Linked DNA regions of Homo sapiens: regions 2 and 3 are each linked to region 1. The links are contacts of gene promoters, found by promoter capture Hi-C in blood cells and fetal thymus (Javierre and others, 2016). All regions are on one chromosome and are shown on one strand. Each heading gives the region's core, a stretch centred on a gene start or on the middle of the fragment in contact. The rest is flanking DNA. Distances are from core to core; before and after follow the strand shown. Region 1 holds the start of NANP (N-acetylneuraminic acid phosphatase). Region 2 overlaps NAPB (NSF attachment protein beta). Region 3 holds the start of NXT1 (nuclear transport factor 2 like export factor 1).

Region 1 (3,984 bases), core at 261-2,760:
CGAGGTGAGAGACTGGCAATTTTTTTCTCTAAAGAGCTAAATAATGAATATTTTAGGATTTCCAGCCACGTGGTCTCGCTTACAATTACTCAACTCTGTCTGCTTCTGTATGGCAACAGCAGCCACAGACGATACAGAAATGAATGTGTGCGCTGTGTTCTAATGCAACTATGGGCACTAAAATTTCTTGATTTTCATGTGTAACAAAACACTGTTATTTTGATTTTTTAAATCCATTTACAAATGTAAAAATCACCCTTAGCCAGGCGCGGTGGCTCACGCCTGTAATCCCAGCTCTTTGGGAGGCCAAGACGGGTGGATCACGAAGTCAGGAGTTCGAGAACCAGCCTGGCCAACATGGTGAAACTCCGTCTCTACTAAAAATACAAAAATTAGCCGGGGGGTGGTGGCATGCGCCTGTAATCCCAGCTACTCAGGAGGCTGAAGCCGGAGAATTGCTTGAACCCGGGAGGCGGAGGTTGCAGTGAGCCAAGATCGTGCCACTACACGCCAGACTGGGTGACAGAGCAAGACTCCATCTCGAAAATAAAAATAAAAATAAATTAAAAAATAAAAAAAACCACTTAGCTCACTGGCTAAACAAAATCAGGTAATTGGCCTGTACCTGACAGTCAATTTCTGGTCACTAATGATGACCACATATCCAAATTACAGTAAAGGTACCCAAGAGAGACAAAGATTAGAGATTAGTGTTACGATCCCCGTTCTGCCAGCACTAGGAGACAAGAGTTGCTACAGCCCTTCCGCGGGTTTAAAAGGCGGTCGACGTCCCTCAACCTCTTGCTATGCCTGAAAACAACCGAGTAAAAGGCATCCAAAGACCTGAGAACGCAAGGTTTCAGGAAAACAATCAGGAAGGGCAAAACATGGGGCAGCCACTACACAGCCCCTCCGTCTTAGGGCACAGGTACTAAACGGGTTGTAAGAGACCCAAGTCACATCCTTCAGAAACGTGCTGGCGCGGGCCCAGGCAGACAGGGATTCCACCCCGGCGAAGGCCGCAAATGGCGCGAGGCGGGAAGGCGCAGGCTCCACCTTCCCCCGTCCCCAGATCACCTACAGTGACCTGCGCGTACAGGCAGGCTAGGACCGCGGGCGCTCAAGGCAGACATCAGGCCCGCCGACGTCTCCGCGCCGCCCGCCCGGCCACCCGGAGAGCCTGCTGCCCAGCGCCTGGCAGCGCGGACAACCTCTCTCGGGGAGGTGATGACGGTCCCTCGCGCCGGAGGGCCCAGGGAGGAAAGAGATAAGCAGAAAGACACCAGGGAAGAACACCACGCTTCGGACCAACGCCAGCCACAGCCACTGAGAAGTCGCCGCATCCGGCGGCGCCGACACACGTTTCCAGGGCTCTTGAGAGACCATACCCTGGGAGTCTCGCGGGATCTCACTTTTCTCGGCGGCGCAGGGAATGAGACAGATCGCGGGAATTCCACCCGCGCCGGGAGATGGTCTGGTGACTTCGCGGCTCCTCCCACGTCTCTCTGGGCAGTCCGCCTTGCGCATGCGCAGGCGGCGGTGGCAAGGCTACGGTTCGCGCCAGCGGCCGGCGCTATGGGGCTGAGCCGCGTGCGGGCGGTTTTCTTTGACTTGGACAACACTCTCATCGACACGGCCGGGGCGAGCAGGAGAGGCATGTTGGAGGTAACGTCCCCACCCATGGCGCTCCTCTGGGCGGGGTCAGTGCGCCCCGCCCCGTCCTGCACGCTCACCTCCCCTTGACCCCACTTCCACCCCGGCGCCGCGGGCCGCTCTTGCTGGTTGAAACCTGTGGAGCGTGCGGGTGCGGAGGTGGCTGGAGGCGCGCGGGCCCTGCGGGTCTGCTTTCCCTGGCCTGGCGGCCGCTTGTCACCCAATCTCGAGCCCTGGAGCGGCTGCTCGCAGGTGCCTTGGCGCTCGGGACGCGGAAGGGCTCCGTGACGGCTGCCACGGTGGCGGAGGTGCCCGTGGGCGCGGGAGGCGACAGCAAAGCCGCGAGACCAGGCGCTGGTCCCGCCCCCGGTCAGACTGTCGGTGTGGAGCTCGACAGAGGGTCGTGTCCCCCATGCGACTTTCGGGGTTGCTGGGAGGAGACATGGTAGAGTTAGCCCCAGTGTTGACCCAAGAAGGGACACGGCTGTCAGTACCGAGCCTGGACTTAAGCCCTGCTTTAGAGAATTGTCGCCGCAGAACTTCTTCTGGCCTCCCTGGCGGGGTGGTGGTCACCGTGGCTTTCTGACACGTGACACAGCAAAAGCCCGTGCTGCGAGGGCATGCCCTTCCTGAGGCGCTCCTCCGCGGCACTGCCCCTCTACACGCGCGGAGGCGCTTTCAGACCTTCCCGTGTTCCAGCCCCAGTCCACCCCGGCTTCCCTTTCTCTACCTTCAGCTTCAAGGGGAAAGGGAAGGATTTATCAGATGTGGAAAACTCACTTTCAAAAGCTAATTCATCCAAACCTGAGCGCCCCGTCCTCTTCATGCTTCATCAGTTAGTTTTTGTGTCCCTGGATCTTCCACTACCTCATCCGTTTTCTTTTTAGCTGCATTCCACTCCTGCCGCATATTCATGTTTGCCCTATAGTTTTAAAAAAGCTGTAAAAAGGATGCCTCCCTTTGGGCTATTCTTCCTGCTGTAGATGTTGCCTGTCTCTCTTGACAGCCATGTTTTCCCGGAGAAATCTATACCCGTTATCTCCTTGTCTCTACCTCCTATTTATTACTAAATCCATCGTAATGTCGCTTTATCTTCACCGCTAGACTGAAATAGACTTGCTGGATCACTAGGCATTCCCAAAATGCCGGAATCAGTAGACATTTTTAAAGTCTGTCTTCATGACTTTACTGAGGCATTCCACACTTTTAACTTGTTGGCCTCCACCTCAGGGGTGCCACCCTGTGCCATATTGCCTCCAGTATCTCTCGCTGCAGATGTTACATATTTACCTGTGTGTTATTAGTAAGCTGAGTCCTGTGCATTTCAATTAAATTATTGCTTTAGGCCAATTCTTGCTGTAGGCCCAGAGTTTGGGCTTTAAAATCAGACATTTGAATATGAATCACAGCTCTCCCAAAACCTAGCTGAAAGTGCCTCAAGGAATTAACCACTCGGAGCCTTATATCTTCATAAAATGTGAATTATATTAGTCCTCAATAACCCTGTAATACTTGGGAAGCCCATGGTTGCAGTGTCCACTCAGCGAACTATAGCACCTTCCACCCTCGTACGCTGTCTGTCCACCACTGCACATGCCCCGTGCATGTCTCAGTTACAGCTGAACTCATCTCTCACCTAGACTGTTGCTGTGGGCTTGTCTCCAGGTTTACCACATCCAGTGTGTCCTCCACATTCTTGCCACAGCAATATTTTTAAAACAAAGACTAAATCGTATGCCTCCCTGGTCTTTACACCCTCACTTATAGTAGTGCTGTATTTTGTTCAGATATTTCTTAATGCATCTGTCAAAGGATATTTCAATTAATTTTGCAACTCAGGTGCCTACTACTAAATAGTGAGCTTCTTGGGAGGGAACAAGCTGTCTTAATTATCCTCGTTTGACACATGGCAAATGTTGAATAAATGCTGGATGGATGGATACAAATTTTTACTTCGAGACTTGGTTCTATTACTGCCTCCTTTATAATTACAAATCATTGTAAATAATTTATGAATGGGCCGGGCGCGGTGGCTCACGCCTGTAATCCCAGTACTTTGGGAGACCGAGATGGGCAGATCACGAGGTCAGCAGATGGAGACCATCCTGGCTAACACGGTGAAACCCCGTCTCTACTAAAAATACAAAAATTAGCCGGGTGTGTTGGCGGGCGCCTGTAGTCCCAGCTACTGGGGAGGCTGAGCCAGGAGAATGGCGTGAACCCGGGAGGCGGAGCTTGCAGTGAGCCGAGATCGCGCCACTGCACTCCAGCCTGGGCGACAGAGCCAGACTCCGTCTCAAAAAATAATAATAATTTATGAATGGAGGAAGA
Region 2 (4,370 bases), core at 327-2,826, 2.2 Mb after region 1:
TAGAGCTGCCCCCACCTTCTAAGTTGCCTTCTCCCAGAAGCAGTGTCTTCTGGAAACTGCAGCCTGTGGCAAAGCCCTTCTATTCAGTTCCCAACTGCAGTGCTCTAACCTGCCAGGTCTTCCACCTGGTCTGGGGTGTTTGCCCACCCTGGTAGGGCACTTCCTTGCTGAGAGTTCTTCCCTGGACAATGATTGCCAGGTTAAACTCCCCTCTCCTGTCGACAGACGCCCCTCTGACTGGCAGCAGAGGCAGTGTTGCTAGCTCTGGTAGTTTTGGATTTTTTATTTCCTAAATTATATTTAATGGAGGCTTGCTGAATACTGCCTCCTTTTGCTGTAGGCACGGATTATGGGTGGTTGTGTATGCTTTTTGTTGATCTATAAGGTTTTTGGAGGATGTGTGGATATATTTATCTAAGCAGCCACCATGATTTTTTGGGAATCACATGTCTCATCAGTATTTTCTGAAGACTGAAATTCAGCTTAAATTTTTATAAAGACTGAAATTCAATTTAAAAACTGCTCTTGGTAAATCAGGTTGTATGTAACAGTCATTTCTGAATTAATCTAGCAGTTACCATTATCTTTCTTAAGTATTTAAATATGTTTGTTTTGTTTTATAAATAGGTCCAGTGTATACCTATTTCTTCTCTATAAAGATGACTACTCCCCATATAAAGTTGAGGCATTAGAAAACTATTGTCAAAATAAAGTCTAACTAGTTTTCTTTGTTATACTTGTTCTCATAAGCTTTATTTCAGGAAATTGTGCTTAAACACAAATACTTTGGTCACAGGCCTTAAATGTCTCTGATTATTTTCTCTGTTTGAGAATCTATGATTTTTGTCCTTAATTAAGCAGAAGTAAACTGAAAAGTTCTTAGAAAATTGATTCCAAAAGCTCAAGGCCACTGAGACAGCGCTCCCCTTACTGGTACAGTGCTAGCTGGCTTGGTGGAATTTTTCTTTCTCTCCAAGGCCAAGACAGGCCTGGCTGCTCCAGGGAACTGGAGGCTGGTAAATAAATGATACTGTTCATTTGTAGGTGGTCTGACTCAAGCCCATGCCCTGGGCCTTTCCACCATACCTTGGGCTTCTGCATTACCGATTTATAAAAGAACAGTGAAACATTTAAATGCTGCCTTTTGCTGTAAGAATTCAAATTAGCATTCTGGAGAGTATCTCCCTCCTACCTTTTTAAAAAAATAGTTTTTAATTGACACATTGTATTGCATATATTGATGGGGTACAGTTTGATTTTTTGATATACGTCTGTGTTGTATAATGATCAAATCAGGATAGTTAGCATACTCATCACCTCATACATTTATCATTTCTTTGTGTTGAGAACATGTAAAAATATCTCTTCCAGTTGTTTTGTGTCCTTCTGGGGCCTCTGCATCTCCTCCACGGAAGAAATCTCTACTTTTGCATCACATAAAAGATTTGTACTGTTTTAAAATATATTAAGCACTGAAATAAAGTAATCTTGGAAGGGTTAAGTTTACCTAGGAAAGCCCCAAGTTTTTAGAATCTGTGGAGTTTCCAGAAGTGAAGCATCAGGTGGAAATAAATTGTTTATAGAGCCTATAATATCACAGAGTAGTTGTGTATGGCAGAGGCACGTTCAGACAGATTTTGAATTTTCCTCTCTTCTGGATTCTTTCTACATTTGCTTATTATTTTGAGGCATACATGGGAAACCTTAAAAAATGAATGTGGACAGTTTGTTCCATCCAGACACTAAGCATCAGCCTTGTTATTGTGGCCTGTGTGCTAGGCCCTGTGCTGCTTCCTCTTCCCCAGAGCATCAGTCTAGTGGCTAAGGAGATACTGCTGGTAAATAATGAGAAGAAGGAGGTACCATGCTTTGTGGGGATCCCCCCAGGCTCCCCACACTGGGCAAGTCCCTTTTCAGTCTTTTGGGGTGGCTTGACACACCCCTTCATGGCATCCTGATGTTAGAGCTGAATTTTGCCTCTGGTTCTACATGCTTATCTTCATAGTACTGTCACTGTCACTTTTTGTGGTATTTCTACTCTAATATCTTGTGATTTTAGAGGCAACTTTATTTCTATCTCAGGAGTTGTCAGCCTTTTTCTTTGAGGTACATCTCATGATGTGTGTGTCATTAGTTCTCACAATTCTACGATGTCTCCTTCCTCCCACCCACAGTTTTAAAATAGTACGGACTATAGTTGTCATAGTTTTACAATGCTCTGCAATAGTTATTATTCAGGATGGGGGAAATCAAGATTTTAGATTATTTGAAGATGAATTGGTTTTCACAGCTCTGCTGTTCACTGGCTCCTGGTGGGACATTTGTGGCTTTGACAATGTTTCCTCAGGGGAACATGGGGAATTGATAGGCTTTTTCTCAGACCCTTCTGGCCGTGAAGCTTGATATTCTTTCCTCAGTGTCGTGACCTCCTTGTGGGCAAGAAGTTTATTTCCTTAGTGTTTTCTGGCACATATGGATCTCAGTAAATATTTCCTGAATAAGTACGGTCAAGAAGAAGAGAGTCTGCCTTGCCTCTGGAATGCAAGGGTGGTTCACCTGGGCCAGCCAGGTGGCAGTGGTTTTTGTGCTAGCTGGGCAGTGTTTTCTTTCACGGTGGGGAAAATGTTTTCTTCTTCCAAGTCAGATTCCTGTAATACAAAAAAATAGTTAATTTAGCTCAGTTTAGCTTCTTAATGTCAATTGAGTGCTAAGTGTTTAACTTATGTTGCTGCGTAATATGGATTCCCCACAGAATATTTTTTCCAAGGATCTTCTGCCTCACTGTGAGACCTCTGGATAACAGTTGTTACTTTGAATGCAAATTCTGAATACTTGTCCATAAAATTTACAAAAAATTAACTTTCACATAAAACAAAATAAGCATCCGGTGTAATTTCAAAAGTACCTTTTTTCAGGAAGTTTTAAAGTTATGGTCAGTTTATGACAAATGGGTTTTTAAAGTGAGGCTACCTCTGGCAATTCTGTTTCAGGAGACATGAGGATCTCATGGTTTAGCAAAGTTCAAAGGTCACTGAACTTGAAGTCAAGTGTCAGGTACACTACTGACCTTGGCTGGGTAGCCTTGGATAAGCCATTGTCCTCTAGATGCCATTTTCTCTTCAGTAAAATAGAGATAGTGTCTTTCATGGTTGTAATAATGAAAATGACATAACATATATGGAAATATCTAGCATAAAACCTGGAATAATGTAGGAACTCTGTTAATTCTAGCTGTATCCTGTCTCTGAAAATAAGTGGATAAAGTACATTTTAATTAAGCTAGTTTTATTTAGAAACCTTTAATAAGAATGATTGAACTATAATTACAGTTCAAGATTCCCAGTACTCTTTAGAAAAACAAGACCCAAGAAAGTAGCAAGACTTTACGCCAAGGGAGGTATGGCTAAGGTTGAGAATGTTTTCATGTGAGGAATTTTCCATTTAGGAAACTTATTAGCTGTTTTTCTTTTTTTTTAATGTGTAGATTTGAAGTGGAGGGAAAGGGACATGAAGGTGTGAGAGAAAGCTGTAGCTTATTCTGACACTTCATTTTTGGTATGGCTTGTTGCCATTCTATCTTTCACTGTGTAACATAGTCCCCAAAGGTTTTTGTTTGTTTTTTTGATTTTTTTTGTGTGTGTTGGGGAGGAGGTTTTATTGAGATTTAATACACATACCGTACAATTCACTGATTTAAAATGTACAATTCAGAGGTTTTTAGCCTATTCACAGGGCTATGCAACCACAGCAGTTTTAGAACATCTTCATCACCCCAGAAAGAAACCCTGTACCATTTAGCTGTCATTTTCCCTCACCTCCCTGCTTTTCCCCAACACTCCCACCTCTAGATGTCTTTGCCTGCTTTGCGCTGCTGTAACACAATAACCTTAGCCTGGGTAATGTATAAGAACAGAAATGTATTTCTCACAGTTTTTGGGGGCTGGAAAGTCTGAGATCAAGGCACCAGCGTCTGGTATCTGGTGAGGGCCTTCTTGCTTTGTCTTCACATGGTAGAAGAGAACCAGAGAAAATGGAACCTCCCTTTCACAAGCTCTTTTATTAGTGGCCTTAATACATTCATGAGAGCAGAGGGCTCATGACCTAAACACCTCCCAGTAGGCCCTACCTCCCAACACTGTTGCATTGGGGATTAAATTTTAATTTAGTTTTGGAGGGGACAAAAACATTCAAACCATAGCACTACCAACCACTAACCTGTTTTCTGTCTCTAAAAATTTGCCTACTGTAGACCTGTCATATAAATGGAATCTCACTGTGACTGCTCATATTGCGCATTAATATTCCATTGTATGTGTATACCACATATTATTTATCTGTTAATCGGTTGATGGACTTTTGGGTTGTTTCCA
Region 3 (3,910 bases), core at 890-3,389, 2.3 Mb after region 1:
ATAATCCCCATGATAAGCTAGAAGCAGCAAACCTCTTGGGTGAGTGGGGATTAGAAGGGAGGACACCCAGCTTACACAGGTACTAACATCCACCAGATAAGTCCTGTGGAGTCACAGTGCCTCCACAGAAAGGCATGTTAGATTTCAAAGCTCTTGGGTGTGTGGACACAGAATATGAACTATAGCTGAAATGTCACATTGTCCCCCAAATAAAAAAGTCCAAAAGCATTTAAAAAATTGACATTTACTTTTTTCAGGGTACAGGTACAACTGTTATGTTCTTTTCTCCATAATTAAAATATTTCACTTAAAAAAAAGAGGACATTACTAAAATAGAGGACATTACTAAAATAGTTTATACTTACAAACTTAGTGAACAGTTTTTTTTCATTTCAAAAAAAAGACTTTTTTTTTTATAATGATTAGCTTATGAAATAAATAAAACATTCCACATAGGGCTGGAAAGAGCCAGGTACTTATAACGGCTGCAAAGATGGTGCATTGCCTCTGGTAAAGGGCTGGCTGGGAGGGAAGCTGTCCTAAAAATGAGCAGTTAAGAGCCAATTTCAGACGTGGGTCTTTCCACGCCCTCCACAGACCTCATAGTTAAGCCTCAACTGTACTCTGGACTGAGTACAGTGGTCCCTCGGTATCTGTGAGGAACTGGATTCAGGACCCCCGAGGATACCAACACCTGCAGATGCTCAAGTCCCTGATAAAATGGTGTACTGTTTGATATAACCTATGCGCAGCATCCTCCTATATACCTTCATCATCTGTAGGTAACTTATAATACCTAATACAATGTAGATGGGATGTAAATAGTTGTTATACTGTATAGTTTAGGAAATAATGACAAGAAAAAAAAAGCCTCTACATGTTCAGTACAAACGCATTTTTCTTTTTCTGAAGAATATTTTTGATTTGAGGTTGGTTGAATCCACCCCACGCGGAACCCACGACTAAGAAGCGCTGTGTTTGCTAAGGGCTTCACACAAATTACCTCATTTAAATGTTACCACAAATGGATGAAAAAGGTATTACTATAACAATTTTACAAATGAGAAAAGGGAAACCTAGGGCTGGATCAAAGTAACGACGGTTAAGTACACTCCTGATCTATCGTTTACAAGACTAGACTGAGGGCTGAAATTTTGTCAATACAACGCTGTCCTTGTACTCGCGTAAGCAAGTCTCCATGAGCACAACTCCAGGACTGCTAGAGTGGGAATTTTCTCCCAGGGACCCCATTTCTCTTTGGCTGGAATTCCCGATCTCCACCTCACTCCTCCTCCCTCCATGGCACCAGTCCCCCCATCATCTCAGAAATGCCCCTCTTCTCCGCCCCTGGCTGTCTTTCCAAACACAATCTAACAACTGGCCACGCCCCCACACACCATAGAAGGACCATCTCCACTTACGGTTTTCAGCTACCTATGAGGTCGTCAGTCCCGCTGTCTGTGTCAAATCAGAAAAAGAACCTGACCGTGAGGACTAGAGTAAGAGGCTGTGAAGACTGCCGCCTCCTCGCACGACCCACACCGTCGAGTGTCCGGAGATGGACGGGAAAAGCTACCACAGTGGCATGGCCTTATTTCCTGTGAGTCGCCTTTAATTCAAACCTAGACAGACGCACGCCCTGCCCGGCCCTCCTCAGACCCGAGAGCTGCGCTGTGAGGGGACGCGCCTCCCCTCGTTGATGAGAATTCGCTGCCACGCTTTTTGCACAGGCGAGAGCCTCACCGCGGCGGCAACTCTACCACGTGGACAAAGGCACAGCCGTGTCTCATTCTCGACAATGGAGGAGGGCGTGGGGTATGCACTAGGGGCTGTCTCGGGGGTCAGACCGCCGGGGGACGGCAACGTACCTGCGCGGCGACGTCCAGGGTCAGCGCGGGCCGCGGCCCCCACGGTCGGGACGCCCCCCGCGTGGGACGCAGTTCCACTGAGGGGCCGGCCGCGGAGGTCACAAGGTGGGCCCACCGAAGCCTCTGGTAGGGGCACGGGAAGAGCCGCCTTTCTCTCCTCCTCCTCCTTCTTGGAGGCTTACTCTGGGTCACCGGGGCCCCAGAGCCGGGGGACTTTCCGGCGCAGTTCCGCGGCTTCCCGCGCGCGGCCAGCCGGTCTCCACGCAGACGCGAGCGCCCCGGCGCCGCCCTCTCCCGCATTCCCGTGACGGGCAGCGAAGTCAGCCAGTGGGACTGCGGGCCGGAAGGCTAACTCCGCCCATGTGTGGCTTATAAGAGGCGGTAGCTTCCGGGAGTGTCACTTTCCCAGAAATCCCGGCAAATCCGCCCTAGAGTTTTCGTTGGTCCAACCGGGCCACAGACTCCGGCCCGTCTGGTTAGGTGGGATGCCTGATTGGGCCAAACCTCTTAGGTCCCGCACCTAGAGCGGGGAGTAGCGTCTGCTTTTTTTTCCGCTGAGCGGAGGCCGCTAGGCTGGAGAGGGAGGGGAAGGTGTGTGGGGTCGGGTGAGATGCTTTCCCCTCGTCCCGCATGCGCCTGTATTGGAGTGATTTCAGTTAAAAGTCTCGTGAAACGTCACCAGTGATGTAGTCACGGCCAGCAGCAGCTGCCTGACCCCGCCGAGGCCTTCCGTCTGGCAACATGTGGGGCGCCGCAATGCTTGAGGCCACGGCGAGGGCAACGCCGGCCGCGCCCCGTGGAAACCGCGTGGCGGAGTGCTTGAGCCGATCGCGCTCTTTAGGAGTTAGGCCACTTAGAGGCGACATCTTGGTGGACACGGAGGAAGCCAGTTTTAGTCAGATGGGAAAAGTAGCTAAAAGTGGGAGGAGACTGGGGCGAGGGTGGGACGTGGGGGAGGCGGGGGCGTGACGGCGGCTCTCCACTGCCCTGAGGCTTGAGGGGCCCCGGGAAACCCGGGCCCGGCTGGGGTTGGGACTCTGTTCTTCCGCGTTCATAGCTACGATTCAGCTGTTCTGGAATGAGAACTGGATTTTTACTGAACTTTACGAACAGGCTCAACAGGATGTAACCATTCAGTGTGGAGGCATGAGAAACTATAGCTTGTAAATTAAAAGAAAAACCTCATTTCTTTAGACAACATTTTCAGCTCCATCTGCTGGTCTGAGGCTGAATAATTAATTGAAAAGCCAGGAGAGAAATGGGGCTAGATGAAGTGAGGTAGTTTAACCTGTGCTTTCTTGGCGTCCCGTCGGCTCCCTTTGCTTGCATTCCTAAGAGAATCTTGGTCTCAGATTTCAGGACAAGTGGAAAACAGTTGGGCTATTTAGTATAGGCCACCCCTTCCCCCCCGCACCCTCTCCCCCCACACACTTCAGTTAAGTAGGTGGAAAGTTTGGATTATTAAAAAGACACGTTGGAGGCTGAGCAGAGAGTGTGAAAGAGCATTTTCGGGGCTTTGTGAACTAACATGGCCTTTTGAACCCCAAGGCAGTGATACTTGGATTGATCTAAATCAGCGTGGATGGAATGGAAGTGGGAATGCGTTGATTTACTGCACGCTCAGTAGTTTGGATGCTGTGCTGCTTTTGTTTCCTGTATAATAAGCCCCTTTAATTTGTTTCACATAACTTATTGGGGGAGGTACCATTATTTCTGATTTTATAGACAAGGAGGCTGACAAAGAACCATCCTGGTGTCACAGGGTCGATTCATACCTAGAAAAGTATGAAGATTCATACCTAGAAAAATTAGAAGAACATTAATGCAGCTCCAAGGCCTTTTAAAAATGCGAGACTTTAGCTTTGAAAGGCAGCTGTTCTGCCTTTTAGGTTTGTGGGGTCTGCCTTTTAGGTTAGGGTCCTTTTAGGTTTGTGTCTCCAGCATATAAAATTGTGCCTGACCCAAAGCAAGGGCTCAATAAATACTGTTTGAATGAACAGACAAACCTGGGTTCAAATCATGCTCCTCAACTGCACAGTTGT

What was found. The method cuts DNA at HindIII sites, captures the fragments that hold promoters and counts their contacts. A CHiCAGO score of 5 or more calls a contact.
Region 2: a fragment that was not itself captured here is called in contact with the fragment with the promoter of NANP in region 1 in 1 of 17 cell types (total B cells); the score reaches 5.9 in total B cells.
Region 3: a contact is called between the fragment with the promoter of NXT1 here and the fragment with the promoter of NANP in region 1, in 2 of 17 cell types (non-activated CD4 T cells and naive CD8 T cells). The highest score is 6.9, in non-activated CD4 T cells.

The regions. Positions count from the first base shown.
Region 1 is chr20:25,621,540-25,625,523 of GRCh38, reverse strand. NANP (N-acetylneuraminic acid phosphatase) reads left to right here and starts at 1,510. Exons shown (of 2, transcript NM_152667.3): 1 at 1,510-1,665. The coding sequence starts at 1,576. ZNF337-AS1 (ZNF337 antisense RNA 1) reads right to left here and starts at 1,479. Exons shown (of 4, transcript NR_126465.1): 1 at 1,389-1,479. RefSeq lists enhancers at 1,421-1,590, 1,562-2,237 and a silencer at 1,761-1,820. The HindIII fragment of the contact is 6,234 bases long and covers 1-3,984 here.
Region 2 is chr20:23,405,745-23,410,114 of GRCh38, reverse strand. The region is part of intron 1 of NAPB (NSF attachment protein beta); the gene reads left to right. Among named protein-coding and RNA genes, the nearest start is that of NAPB, 14 kb to the left of the region's middle. RefSeq lists enhancers at 1,708-1,767, 1,908-1,967. The HindIII fragment of the contact is 1,648 bases long and covers 753-2,400 here.
Region 3 is chr20:23,349,020-23,352,929 of GRCh38, reverse strand. NXT1 (nuclear transport factor 2 like export factor 1) reads right to left here and starts at 2,139. Exons shown (of 2, transcript NM_013248.3): 1 at 1,869-2,139. It overlaps NXT1-AS1 (NXT1 antisense RNA 1), which reads left to right and starts at 1,463. Exons shown (of 3, transcript XR_937384.2): 1 at 1,463-1,600. RefSeq lists enhancers at 1,288-1,337, 1,394-2,265, 2,204-2,498, 2,418-2,557, 2,266-3,138 and silencers at 1,828-2,097, 2,718-2,847. The HindIII fragment of the contact is 12,471 bases long and covers 1-3,910 here.